Linked DNA regions of Homo sapiens: all the other regions are linked to region 1. Evidence: promoter capture Hi-C in 16 types of primary human blood cells and fetal thymus (Javierre and others, 2016). All regions are on one chromosome and are shown on one strand. Each heading gives the region's core, a stretch centred on a gene start or on the middle of the fragment in contact. The rest is flanking DNA. Distances are from core to core; before and after follow the strand shown. Region 1 holds the start of FOXF2 (forkhead box F2). Region 2 has its middle 140 kb from the start of EXOC2. Region 3 has its middle 120 kb from the start of EXOC2. Region 4 overlaps LOC101927691 (a long non-coding RNA gene).

What was found. The method cuts DNA at HindIII sites, captures the fragments that hold promoters and counts their contacts. A CHiCAGO score of 5 or more calls a contact.
Region 2: a contact is called between a fragment that was not itself captured here and the fragment with the promoter of FOXF2 in region 1, in 3 of 17 cell types (M2 macrophages, M1 macrophages and M0 macrophages). The highest score is 6.6, in M2 macrophages.
Region 3: a contact is called between a fragment that was not itself captured here and the fragment with the promoter of FOXF2 in region 1, in 9 of 17 cell types (M2 macrophages, naive B cells, M0 macrophages and 6 more). The highest score is 13.2, in M2 macrophages.
Region 4: a fragment that was not itself captured here is called in contact with the fragment with the promoter of FOXF2 in region 1 in 1 of 17 cell types (M1 macrophages); the score reaches 5.7 in M1 macrophages.

The regions. Positions count from the first base shown.
Region 1 is chr6:1,387,644-1,391,032 of GRCh38, forward strand. It overlaps FOXF2 (forkhead box F2), which reads left to right and starts at 1,933. Exons shown (of 2, transcript NM_001452.2): 1 at 1,933-3,389. The coding sequence starts at 2,305. FOXF2-DT (FOXF2 divergent transcript) reads right to left here and starts at 1,818. Exons shown (of 3, transcript NR_187218.1): 1 at 1,376-1,818. MIR6720 (microRNA 6720) reads right to left here and starts at 2,768; the gene lies at 2,671-2,768. RefSeq lists an enhancer at 3,115-3,389. The HindIII fragment of the contact is 4,023 bases long and covers 1-3,389 here.
Region 2 is chr6:829,573-833,190 of GRCh38, forward strand. No RefSeq gene overlaps it. Among named protein-coding and RNA genes, the nearest start is that of EXOC2, 140 kb to the left of the region's middle. RefSeq lists enhancers at 1-308, 309-854 and a silencer at 37-331. The HindIII fragment of the contact is 926 bases long and covers 1,206-2,131 here.
Region 3 is chr6:808,510-811,813 of GRCh38, forward strand. No RefSeq gene overlaps it. Among named protein-coding and RNA genes, the nearest start is that of EXOC2, 120 kb to the left of the region's middle. The HindIII fragment of the contact is 5,397 bases long and covers 1-3,304 here.
Region 4 is chr6:873,198-876,548 of GRCh38, forward strand. LOC101927691 (a long non-coding RNA gene) reads left to right here. Exons shown (of 3, transcript NR_110853.1): 2 at 554-777; 3 at 1,775-3,351. Among named protein-coding and RNA genes, the nearest start is that of EXOC2, 180 kb to the left of the region's middle. The HindIII fragment of the contact is 5,041 bases long and covers 1-3,351 here.

The sequences.
Region 1 (3,389 bases), core at 683-3,182:
GCGAAGCCCTACCCCAACCCAATCAAAACATCCCACCCGGAAAAGAGCGACTTGTTTCTTTTTTCTATTGGAAATGAGTGGTAAACTGAGTTCGGTTTGGCGGTGTTTTCTTAGCTGACTCTCGGCTACAATCAAGCCATTTTCGGACACATTCCCATGTAGGTACCAGGGGTGCTCTGGAGGAAGCTGTCGACGCCTGTTCAGCTAATTTAGGTTTTCTTTGTCTAATTACTGTGGAGCTTAGGGAGAAGGAGCCGGCTCAGGGCAGTAAACTGACACTCGGTCTCTGTGTGTGGTATCCAGGCAGGGTTTGATGGAAAAAGCCTGCTTCCACTCAACCTCAGGTCACTGTCTGGGGCCAGCCCCGGCCCACCCCCCTCCCACATACCCCTCCCCTCCCCACCCGCCCTCTCTGCATCTACAGCCCCACCAGCACACTCAGCCAGGAGCAGTCCCCCGGCACTCCAGGGGCACACAGGGCTCCTGCCGCCCCAGGGGGCCTGCCTAGGCTGTGCGGCTGTGAAGGCTCTTTGCCTGGTGTCTTCCTCCTGATTACTGCACAACCTCCCTTTCTCCTGCCTCCTGCAACTCCCCAGGCTCCCCAGCAGGCACACCCGTGCACCTCGGTCCTTTCAGCCTAGACGCAGCGGGGTGCCCAGCTCTACCTCCTGTTTGGTCCGCTGGTCTGCAGCACCTTCTTTCTGGGCCTCCCCCTTCAGCCCTTGGGAGGCCCCGCCAGCTCCGGCCTCCTGCTCTCCTCCTCCCTCTCCCAGCTCCTATCCCTGGTCGGACTACATTTCCCTGCACGTGTAATCCAATAACTAACTGTCGGGTCTCATTGGAAGTGATTGCTCCCGAGGGCACATCTCTCTCAGAGCCTGACTCTTACTTAGGGAGGAATTAGCCACAACTGGGGAGAAGTGTTCTCGGACAGGAGTTAGCTGAGACCTGGCACAGTTTTGGGTGGGCAATGTTAAGACGGAGGATGTAAACCTAGTGACAGCTGCACACCCCTTCAGGACTGACTATAAATATAGCCATCTCGCTTATCTCAGGGTCTTTCTTTTTCTTTCTCTTTCTTTCTTTTCTTCCTTCCTTCCTTTTTCTTTTGCACTTTTTTCTTACAGAACACTAACTGGGGTGCGGGGGTGGGGGGAAGAAGTGGAAGCAAATGCAACCCTAAGTCCCATGAGATCCAGGTTTCCAGAGTCTTTGAAACTTGGCCTAGGTTTCTCAGTGTAAATCCCTCTGCTCAAAGTTCCGAAAACGTCCACGATCGCCAGCGGCCCGCAACCCTGCGGCGGCCCCCAGTCGCCCTAACAATTGTCGGGGAGCCTGCAGGCCCTGCCAGAAAGAGAGAGGATTGGCACGTTACCTTTGGGCGTCTGGCACCCCGGCGTGTGGCTGAGGGCGGCAAAGTCTAAACGAAGTTGACAGATGGAGTCAGTATCGGCCCTGGGGAGGGCGGCCAGGGAGGCTCCGAGCAGCCGCACCCGCAGCAGCACCACTCGGCCCGGCGGGCCAGGAGGAGGAAGGGGGCGCGGAGGGGCGGGGCTGGGTCCTGGGATGGGACGCGGGGCTTGCTGCGGGGGGCAAACAGAAAGAATATTTCATGAAGTCAGAGGTGGTCGAGTTTTGCGAGGGGTGGGGGTCGTCCCCCTGGCAGAACCGGAGTGAGTCTGTGATCCCTCAATTGGAAAGAGGGTGAGTGAGGGAAAGGGGAGGAGGCCGCGAGAGGAATGAAGAGCGAGGAGACCCTGGAGAGCGGGGAGCGAGATAAGAGAGGGAGGCGGCCGCCAGGTCGGGAGGGGGAGGAGTGAGCGCGGCGGCGCGGAGCGAGGAGGGGGCAGGGCGGGGTGGGGGGGGAGGGAGGGAGGGAGGGAGCGAGGAGGGCGGCCGGGGAGGGCGAGGGAGGGAGGAAGTCCGAGAGACAGAGCGAGGAGCGCTCCTGAAGGGAGACGTCGGGCTCGTCCCCGGGGTCCAGGCCGCGGTCCCACTCGCGGGCGCAGTCGCCCGGCGCCGGCCGCTCGGCCCCGCGGCCTGGGAGGCCGTTGCGCAAGGCAGGGCCCGCGGCTCGGGGAGGGATGCGCCGGGCGTTGCCTCCCGCCCGCCGCCGCCGCCGCCGCCAGAAGCCCCAGAGGAGCTGAGGGAGGCGACGCCGAAGCGCTGGCCCGGAGTGGCCACGGCTGCAGCCCGGGCGGCGGGCTAGGGCGCTCGCAGGGCTTCTGGGCCGACCCCGCTCCGGCGCCTCCGCTTCCCGCCCGGGGCCCGCCCTCGCGGCCCGGCCTCGCTCCCGGGTCCCAGATGACCACCGAGGGCGGGCCGCCGCCGGCCCCGCTCCGCCGCGCGTGCAGCCCGGTCCCCGGCGCGCTCCAGGCCGCCCTGATGAGCCCGCCGCCCGCCGCCGCCGCCGCCGCCGCCGCCGCCCCGGAGACCACCTCCTCCTCCTCGTCGTCGTCCTCCGCCTCCTGCGCCTCGTCCTCGTCCTCCTCCAATTCGGCCAGCGCCCCCTCGGCTGCCTGCAAGAGCGCGGGCGGCGGCGGCGCGGGCGCCGGGAGCGGGGGCGCCAAGAAGGCGAGCTCGGGGCTGCGGCGGCCCGAGAAGCCGCCCTACTCGTACATCGCGCTCATCGTCATGGCCATCCAGAGCTCGCCCAGCAAGCGCCTGACGCTCAGCGAGATCTACCAGTTCCTGCAGGCGCGCTTCCCCTTCTTCCGCGGCGCCTACCAGGGCTGGAAGAACTCGGTGCGCCACAATCTCTCGCTCAACGAGTGCTTCATCAAGCTGCCTAAGGGCCTCGGGCGGCCCGGCAAGGGCCACTACTGGACCATCGACCCGGCCAGCGAGTTCATGTTCGAGGAGGGCTCGTTCCGCCGCCGGCCGCGCGGCTTCAGGCGGAAGTGCCAGGCGCTCAAGCCCATGTACCACCGCGTGGTGAGCGGCTTGGGCTTCGGGGCGTCGCTGCTGCCCCAGGGCTTCGACTTCCAGGCGCCCCCGTCGGCGCCGCTCGGCTGCCACAGCCAGGGCGGCTACGGCGGCCTCGACATGATGCCCGCGGGCTACGACGCCGGCGCGGGCGCCCCCAGCCACGCGCACCCTCACCACCACCACCACCACCACGTCCCGCACATGTCGCCCAACCCGGGTTCCACCTACATGGCCAGCTGCCCGGTGCCCGCGGGACCCGGGGGCGTCGGTGCGGCCGGGGGCGGCGGCGGCGGCGACTACGGGCCGGACAGCAGCAGCAGCCCGGTACCCTCGTCCCCGGCCATGGCGAGCGCCATCGAATGCCACTCGCCCTACACGAGCCCTGCGGCGCACTGGAGCTCGCCTGGCGCCTCGCCTTACCTCAAGCAGCCGCCTGCCCTGACGCCCAGCAGCAACCCCGC
Region 2 (3,618 bases), core at 419-2,918, 560 kb before region 1:
AAGAATAAGAAAGATACGAGACTTACAGAAAACCAAAGCAAAACGGCAAGAAGTAAAGTGAGTGACAAACCATTGAATCTTGTTCTGCCCACCATGGAGAAAAAGGCACAATGCTGAGTGGTTCTCTTTCAATTTTGTAGGCAACACGTACCACATTTGAGCGTGCTGCTCTGTAAACCTGCTGAGTAAGCTCAGCATAAGAAAAGACTGTAATGGCTCTAAGCTCTTCTTCAAGCTGTTCTAATCTTTGAGAAAATAAACCGACAAGCACAATGGCACTGGGAGTCTGTGGCAAGTGAGGCTGTGGTATGAAGGACAGGCAAGTCTCAATAGGAGACTGGCAGAGCAGATGCCTGAGGTTTTAGAGGAAGGCTATGCCCTTTTGTGGTTACAACAATTCTTTTCCACTTGCAGGGCAGCTCCTGACTTGCTACTTGTCCCTTGCAGAGATGGAATGTCTAACCGTGGGATACCAAGTGACAACATGGTAGATGCCCATTGTGAACTGGATATTACACAATGAATTGAATTATAAAGTTGTGCCACATTGCATTCATTATTAAAGAAAACAGTATGTGTGGGATGGAGCTAAGCAGGTGCCAGAGGGCACAGGTAAGTGGCATGCATGCACAGGGATTCAGATACCACGTTACCTTTTCCTATTGCCTCATAACCTCTCCTTCAAGCTGAATCTATGGCCTCATTGGGAGTTTCCTGTATAAAATGAACAGAATAGGGAAAACAGTGGGCCTAGTTAATGGATGTATCTTGTGAAAAAGTAAGGACCTTGGTATGAAATGGGGTCTTTGATGAAACAGACAAGCCATCTAAATAGTATGTATTTACATATGGGTAGGCAGGGTTAAGGGAAATAAGGAATAGTTAGCACCCCAGGGCTAACAACACTGAGAAACGGATAACATGCTAGGCCTGAAACCGCAAGCAAAGGTGATGACTTTGAGAACCTGAGGAGGCCTGCATTAGACAGAGAAGGCTGCCTCCCTCCAAAAGATCTGTGGATTTGGGGAAAGTATACCATCATTGCCAAGTTGTAATTTTGGAGAAAGAAAGTTCAAAGGATGAATACACTGACCTCTCTCACCCCTCAAGCTCAAGTTTTCTCCTGATGCCTTTAAAAGGGATTCAAGGGATTTGGAGCTGACCGAAGAAGAAGACTTGACCACGAGAAGCAGTAACACCCAGCAAGCTTCACTGGGCAGCGCTTGGATAGGATCACATAAAGGATCCCTCACAGCAGGAGACTAGCCAGTGGCTTATGGGAGGGACACACCCAGAAGGGGAGGAGAGCAAGGGAACTCCTGGGGAGAGGAGGATTAGAGGAGGAGCTTACGTGTCCAGGTGATGCCACTCAGAAGCATGATAGTGGGGGCTCAAGTCGGAGAGCTCTGAAGGGCCGAAGTGGCTTGGGGAGCTTGCAACCATGAGGCTTTATCTTATAATGGCCAACAGATGCAGGATGAGGTGTCCTGGAGTATGCAGAGCACATGGGCTCTAACTAGCCCCAGATCTGCTTAGTTGGGCTATTTTTAAAATAATTGGATGTCCAACAACTTGAATTTGACACCTGTGGGCTTTTGAGGTAATAGATCTCAGCCTGCAGTGAAGAAATAAACAACCCAGGAGTCTATTTGCAGAGGCCATAATTGGCTCATTTCAATAACTGCCACCAGCTGGCCAAATCCAACTGGAAGCCAGAGAGCAAGGGAGTCTGTCTGATGCACTTGATAAAGGTCTGGCTCCTGGAACATGGAGTAAGGTGGGCATGGACCTGGACAGGCAAAGGGGAATGCACAGCAGAGGTCTTCCTGGTGTGATACCAGCAAGAAGTAGTGCCAACAGCTACTGTATCCTGATTCTACCCATCAACACAAAAATAAACTGTGAATTTGATAGAGCGGGATGAATTTGGGGTGATACGTCTGGTTTTCCACTGACTCAAGTTTCAAATTTATGCTGATTCATGTGTAGTGGATAACAGGCTGGTCAAGAACTGGAAAAGAACAGGACTGTAATAGTAGGGCAAGTAGGTCTGGGAGGAGGTGTGGGGCACACTTCTCAGATATCGGTGTCCTCACTGGCTTCTGTCTGTGGCTTCCTCACTTTAGCATGAAGCTTCTCCCTCAACTACTATAAGCAGGGGAGGAGAATGGTGGAAAGTTTCATGCTAGAATTCAATGCACACGTCACTGCCACTCACAACTTCTTGGCCTGAACTGGTTACACATTCCTGCCTGTGGGTGAGAAAGTATAATCAGAGACACTGGATACTGGTGACTCCAAGCAGCCTGTAGTGCATGCTCATATATACCATTTTATTCAGTACCATGATGATAATTTCTCAAAATATTATCTCAAAGTATTTCTCAAAATATTAATTTCTCAAAATATTAAAAGTAGTATTTAAGAATATAAGTTCTATAAGGCTGAAGGCATCACACTACCTGACTTCAAACTATACTACAAGGCTACAGTAACCAAAACAGCATGGTACTGGTACAAGAACAGACACATAGACCAGTGGAACAGAAAAGAGATTTCAGAAATAAGATGCACATATACAACCATCTGATATTTAACAAACCTGACAAAAACAAGCAATGGGGAAAGGGCTCCCTATTTAATAAATGGTGCTGGGAAGACTGGCTAGTCATATGCAGAAAATTGAAACTGCACCACTTTCTTACACCTTATACAAAAATTAATTAATGTCAAAAGCAATTGCAACAAAAGCAAAAATCGACAAATGGGATCTAATTAAACTAAAGAGCCTCTGCACAGCAAAAGAAACTATCATAACCTACAGAATGAGAGAATGTTTTTGCAATCTATCCAACAAAGTTCTAATATCCAGAATCTACTAGGAACTTAAACAAATTTACAAGAAAAACACAAACAATCCCATTAAAAAGTGGGGAAAAGACATGAACAGGCACTTCTCAAAAGAAGACATTTATGCAGCCAACAAACATATGAAAAAAAGCTCAACGTCACTGATCATTAGAGAAATGCAAGTCAAAACCACAACAAGATACTATCTTATACCAGTCAGAATGGTGAGTATTAAAAAGTCCAGAAACAACAGATGCTGGCAAAGCTGTGGAGAAATAGGAACACTTTTACATTGTTAGTGGGAGTGTAAATTAGTTCAGCCATTGTGGAAGGCAGTGTTGCAATTTCTCAAAGACCTAGAACCAGAAATCCCATTTGGCCCAGCAATCCCATTACTGGGTATATACCCAAAGGAATATAAATCATTCTATTATGAAGATACATGCACACGTATATTCACTACAGCACTATTCACAAAAGACATGGAATCAACCCAAATGTCCATCAGTGATAGATTGGGTAAAGAAAATGTGGTACATATACATCATGGAATACTATGCAGCCATAAAAAGGAAGGAGATCATGTCCTTTGCAGGGACATGGATGGAGCTAGAAGGCTTTATCCTCAGCAAACTAACACAGGAACAGAAAACCAAACACTGCATGTTCTCACGTATAAGTGGGAGCTGAACAATGAGAACACATGGACACAGAGAGGGGGACAACACACACTGGGGCCTGTTGGGGTGAAGTGTGAGGAGGGAGAGC
Region 3 (3,304 bases), core at 347-2,846, 580 kb before region 1:
ATGCAGGATGAAATATGATTTTCCTTGCTTGAAACCTTGGAATGGTATCCCATTGCCTGAAGATGGAAGAACACACACCTTACCAGGACTTTCATTGCTCTCTATGAGCAGACCACAACCTCTCATTTCAATTCAACCTCCATTATTTGCCTATCCTACAACCTCCTTGTACTAGAACTAGATACTTGCTTCCCTTCATCCTTCAGGGATACATGTATTTTACAATAAACATTTACTAAGCCCCTAGGCTAGGCGCGGTGGCTCACTCCTGTAATCCCAGCACTCTGGGAGGCCGAGGCGGGCAGATCACCAGGTCAGGAGATCGAGACCATCCTGGCCAACATGGAGAAACCTTGTCTCTACTAAAAATACAAAAATTAGTTGGGCATGGTGGTGTGCACCTGTAGTCCCAGCTACTTGGGAGGCTGAGGCAGGAGAATCGCTTGAACCCAGGAGGCAGAGGTTGCAGTGAGCCGAGGTCACCCCACTGCACTCCAGTCTGGAGACACAGTGAGACTCTGTCCCAAACAAACAAACAAACAAAAACAAACAAAAACAACAAAAACAAAAAACAGAAAAACAAAATGAAACATTTACTAAGCTCCTGTCATTTTCTAGATAATTTGGTAGATACTATCAGTTCGGAGCTTACTCTCTACCAAATATTCTTAATTTTCTCTGAACAGGTATTGATGAAAGAATCATGAAAAAACAGATTAAAACCTACATGTAATATTGAACACAAGCAAGAAGACAGACAATGAGGATAAAGTATGCTAAGTGTTAAGACAAGTTAAGCATAGGATACTGTGGATGATTTCCCACCTGTGTAGGAAACCAGATGCAGACTGAGAATCAGGCAGCTGTTGACAGGTCAATGTAGACTTTCAGGAAGAGATGGTGACTGATGACACTCAAATGCAAGCATGGAGGACCCAGTCCAGGGAGGGATGGCAACTGATGGAGAAACGGCCCAAGAAGGTAAGAAGGGAGTGGGCCGGCACATGGAAGCAGGGGCAAGACTCCCCTGCCAGCGTGGCAGATGTGAAGGAAGAAGGGGAAAGGCTTAAGTACTAGTGAAGTTTAATTAATTGTCTCATATATTGCCAATTCTAGGGGTAGGTAGTTCAAAGGCTGGAATGGGAGCTTGGCAGTGTCACTAGGGAGCCACACTTCCTCTGCCTGTGAGCTTCCATCCTTACTGTGTGGGCTCCTCATCTTCAGCCTCACTGCTTTGTATCCAGTCATCCCCCATTATCCGTGAGGGATACACTCCAAGACCCCCAGTGAATGCCTGAGACCAACAACAGTATCAAACCCTGTGTAGACTATGTTTTTTCCTGTACATACATACCTATGATAAAGTTTAGTTTATAAATTAGGCATGGTAAGAAACGAACAGCAATAGCTAAAGATAAAGTAGAACAATTAGGATGGTACATTGTAATAAAAGTTATGTGAATGTTGTATCTCTCTCTCAGAATTTCTTTCTTTTACTGTACTCAGCCTTCTTTGTTTATCTTGGGTAACTGAAGCAACAAAAAGCAAAACTTTGTATAAGAGTGGACTACCATATTCAACTTCTTTAGTTTATTCTGCAGTTACCAATAACGTCTAAATTTCAGTGGCTTAAAACAACAAAGATTTATTTCTCACTCTCATTATATGTTGTCTGAAGGTTTTCATTCCAGGATGTAAGTTTGAGGAATAGCTTCACTGGAAACATACCATTCTCATGAGAGAAGAAAAGACAGGCAGAGGGGAATCATAGAGCAGTTCTTAGAGTTCACCTCGGATAAGATGTATGCCATGCTCTGTCGCCTAAAGCAAGTCCTGGGCCGTGCCTAAGCATCAAAGGCCACAGGGACATCCTTCTCTCACAGGAAGGCATCACAAGTTACATGACAGTCACTAAGGATCTATTATCCTCTAATAGGAGGGCCACAAATAATTGGGTGCAAAGTATAACTGTCACATCTTTCGAGATTGCAGAATTACTGCACACAGTTACCTTTCACAAATGAGATCAGAGTCAGAATAAGGAGCAACTTTTCTCCCCATCCTCTTTATGTCAAGGGGCAATATGTATTTGCAATGAGTGAATGAATGTCACCATAGGTTGATGTAATTCCCATCAGCAAATCAACAGATGTTTCTCAAAAAATGCGTCAGGAAATACAATATGATTTTGATGCATCAAATTTCTAAGAAAATACAAAAGATAAGGAAATATAAAATTTCACCATCGTAATAGTAGTTATTGCCTAAATTTATTTAGAATTTTTATGTGCCAATTTCCAAAGCGGAGAAATCATTGCATTCTCCTAGGGCCTATTCAACTTTCAGCATGCCATTCTTCCCTATAGTCAGCCATTGTTGAGTACTCTGGAAAAACGAAATTCATTTTCATTTCATTTTCATTTTCAGCCTGAGGTAACTCTTTCTAAAATGTTGGGCATTGACTAACTTTCAAACTGGTTGTGTTGGTCCATGCTGGAGAATATAAAATCACCCAACATTCATCTTTATTGTGCATACATTTGCTTATTGATGGTTAATAAAGAAATCTACAGAATGGGTATAGCATAAATTGGTAGAGACTTTCTCTGGCTACCAGAAAGTTCAACAACGGCCTCTATGACTTTAACATTTTAGAGTAATGGCAGGCTAATTTGTGAATCTTACTCTGCAATATGAAGGTATCAGGTGATGTTGTGTTACTTCCTGTAAATATTCTGATGTTACACAGCTTCCCAAGTCAAATCACACTCTCCACTCCATGAAGGCCTGAATCCTTGAAATGGAGAAACTTCATGATGACTGTAAGCCATTCCACATGGGAATACTTTGTAGATATATCATTGGTATTTTGGAAAGCAGTCGTCATGTGATTTTGATTACAGCATATGCAGTATATCTGAGGATTGTTCACATAAGCATTAAATATAAAACTGTCTTGGAGTGTGTCATGGATTTTGAATCTGAAAAAGTGTGACTGTGTATACCACACATGCTGGGCTATTGGACAGCACTTGCCAAATGCCTTTCATTCCACCTTCACCTTTAACTGAGGAAGGCAGCACTTGAATATACTATCTGGTTGGTGTGAGAGCCTGTTTGATCAGGTGTTGATGGCCAGTATCTGAGGCTAGGGTCAAGATTCAAGCCCTTTAATAGAGAAGGGGGTAGGATACCCAAAAGATGAGATGCATAAAAAGGCACAGCAATTTTCTCCTAGGGGAAGAATTTTAAAGCACCTATTAAGGTGATTTGAAATACATCAAAACAATGGTTTGTATTGTTT
Region 4 (3,351 bases), core at 372-2,871, 510 kb before region 1:
TGTGGGCTGAACTGTGTCCTGCTCCAACTCCCCCAGTTCCTCAGAATGTGGCTGTGTTTAGAGACAGGGCCTTTAGAGAGGTCGTGAAATTAAAATTAGGTGACCACGGTGGACTCCAATCCAATCTGACTGGGGACTGTGTAAGAAGAGGAGATTAGGACACAGACACGCACAGAAGGACCACCATGTGAGGACACAGGGAGAAGACGTCATCTACAAGCCAAGGAGGGAGGCCCCAAGGAGAATCCAGCCCTACACAACCCGATCTCAGGCTTCCAGCCTCCAGAACTGTGAGAGAATAAATTTCTGTTGTTTAAGCTGCCCAGTCTGTGGTACTTTGTCATGGCAGCTCTAGCAAACTAATACTCCTCTATTTTTACCAACTTCTGTGGAGAGAATTTTTTCCCTTTGGAAATGGAACATGGAACATTAAATGAAATGTTGATTGGCTTGTATGGATTTCATCATTATTGACTGCTTCAAGCAAAGGTATTTATCTTTCTAGCTGATGTTCATAAAGCATTTATAAAGTGCTTTTATTTTATCTTCACAGTTGATCATGAAAACAAGCAAGGCAGGTGGCTGTTACCATTAACTACAGTTCACATGGGAGGAAGCTGAGCAACTTCCCTAAGAAATTCAGCCAGGAAGTAGCAGAGAAAGGGGATTGAACCCAGGTCTTTGGCCTTGAGCCCCTTTTTCCCTCTGGTCAAAACTGCATTCCTGGAACTTATGGCTGGTTATGTTTCTGGGAAAGGCACTACAAGTTGAAATGATGTAAGTCTAATCTAATTTATTAACAGAAAAGTTTTATAATGGAGGTTATAGTATGGACTAAGTGCTTGATTCCCAAATTGTTATACAAAGAACAAAAATCCCATATGTGATCAAGCTCAGGCTATGTACCTATACAGTACACAGTGAGAACTGGCAATATAATGCCTGCTCTTATAAAATTTAATTTCATTTTTAATATAGTTCCCAGGAGAGGGTTTGTGCAGAGTAGAACGAAGGGCTAGAGGTTTTGTGGAAACAGCTGGAGATTTCCTGATTTCCAGAGGTTTTGCCTGAGGCTGAGGCTGCAGTGACCCGTGGGACAGATGCTGTGGGGGGATGGGGGAGGTCCCCTGAGGCCTGGCGCTGGGCCGTTGCATCTTTTCACCACTAGGACCCATCAGGAGGCTGTTGGAACATTGTGGGTACCCCAGGAGCATGGGAGCCTCTCTGGTTGAACCTTCGTTTGTGGAGGGAAGTATTACCCATCCTTTGCTTTGCTGCCTGAGGACCAGCGTGAGACTCAAGCTGCTTTGGTATGATAGAAAGCTGCTTTGCTCTTCTAGAAAACCAGGGCCCTACCACTTAGCAGCACACAAGAGTGGAACCCAGTGCCCAGGAACTGGCTTGTGTGTGCACTCAGGTCCCTCTGAGTGAAGATGTAACATCTAGCTCCAACCCAAAGCATATCTAAAACACCCGCCTATCTCTAAAACACCAAAGCGTCTCTAAAACACCTGCCCTTGCTTTGTGGAGAGGGTAGGAAAACAGGCGAAATCAGCGAATGTCTTTCCCGTGGCTCTAATGGCCAAAGCCCCACGGACAGCTGCCCTGTTTCCCGGTTCTCTAACCATGGCCAGCAGCAGCCTGTTTTCCCTTTCACATCATCCTGGTCACAGTGGACGTGAAATTTAGGGCATCTGTGTGGGGAGTCCTTGGCCATCTGTGTCTAGTACTAGTGAAACAGGAAGAAGTGCTTTTTCTTTTTCTTTTTTTTTAGAAAGTCCCTGTCCTGAGCCTGCAGCTGGAAGGAAGAGTGGCCTGGCGCTGTTATTTTTAGAAGATGGAGGGCTGGGTGAAGATTGCGGCCCAGGTCGGGGTCTGCTTCCCTTTATGGGGGTGATTTTTCCATGGAGATCCAGTGTTTCCTCTGGGCTCACTCATGAGGAAGATAACCCACTGCACTCTAGAAAAGGTGATCTGGCGGACGGTGGCTTGCTACGTTGCCTTTTCTGGGTCCTGATGACTCATCTTACAACAGCCCTGCTAGAAGAGAGATGCAAGGCTTTGAGACAAGAGTTCACCTGGCCACCGTCTTTACAATCCCTATACTCTATTTTAAATATAAACAGAACCAAAACACAGGCCAACAAACGAAAAACTCCAAAAAGAACTTTGTCATTTTTCTAATTTTCCCCTTCATCTCCTCTTTTATAGAGTGCACTTGTCTGCCTATTTTCCTATCTCATGTATCTATCAATCCATCTCCTATCGTCTCTCTATCATCTACCCATCCATGCAGCTATCTAAACTTGCAATCTAAACTTGATAGGAAATCAGGGAAGCACAAATGTCTCTCACCCCCACATTGTCAGTGGGAAAACTACTCTCTTGTTAGCTGTGAAAATATCACTCCATTGACCTTTTGACAGATCTCTGGGCCTGAACCTAATGACCCAGTTATGTCCTATTTTCTGTAGCCCTGATGGGAAAAGGAGGTGGGTTATGTAAAGAGAGAAAAAGAGGATAGATCCATGAGATTGTTCAGTTCCACTTCAGCGTCTATGTGGAGATGAGACCAAACCATTCGTGACAGAATGGAATCAATTGTTTTCTTCTCCAGATTTCCCAGAAAAGTGATCTCCTCCCATAGTGGTCGAGCTGTTTGTTTTCTGGGACTGAGATTTAGCAGGGTTTTGTTTGTTTGCTGGGTGAGGGCAACACGAGGGGATGAGGTACCATACCAAACTGAGCTTCTGATGTAATGTTAGCAAGCTGGATTGCATTCCCATTTTACACTCTTCCACTGGTCTAGAGAAGACGCTTTAGGAAATGAACACGTAGCTAGCATGAGAGTTTAATAAAAGGCTGATGCTTCATCTCTTGGCTTAATCATTTGATTGCCAAGGAGGCTGTCTTTCCCTATACCTTATTCTCAGCTGATAGCCTGGTGCCCTTGACTGTCCAAAACTGTTACAGGCCCATAGTCCAAGACAAGATTCTCATGAGAAAAAGTGCAGGAGAGACAGGAAATGGGACCCCAGGAGTCTGTTCTCATGACATGAATTCAGTGGAAACAATGGGATGGGTCCGCTCTTTTCCAGTTTTTGGTTGACTTTCTTCTTTGATGATCTTTCTTTCTCCTGACCCTTCCGCCCACCCTGACCCTCTCCCAGGGATGGGAAGCAGGATATTTTCATAAAGCCTTTGTTCCTGGGAGGAGCTCATGCTCTGTCTCGGGTCAAACTCTCCCTTCCCATTCCAACTACTCAGGTGCCCATGGACTTCCTGCAGGAACATCTCCAGGAGTCCAGGCTTCCCTGCCCATATTTTATCTGGATGGGAGTAAGACACACC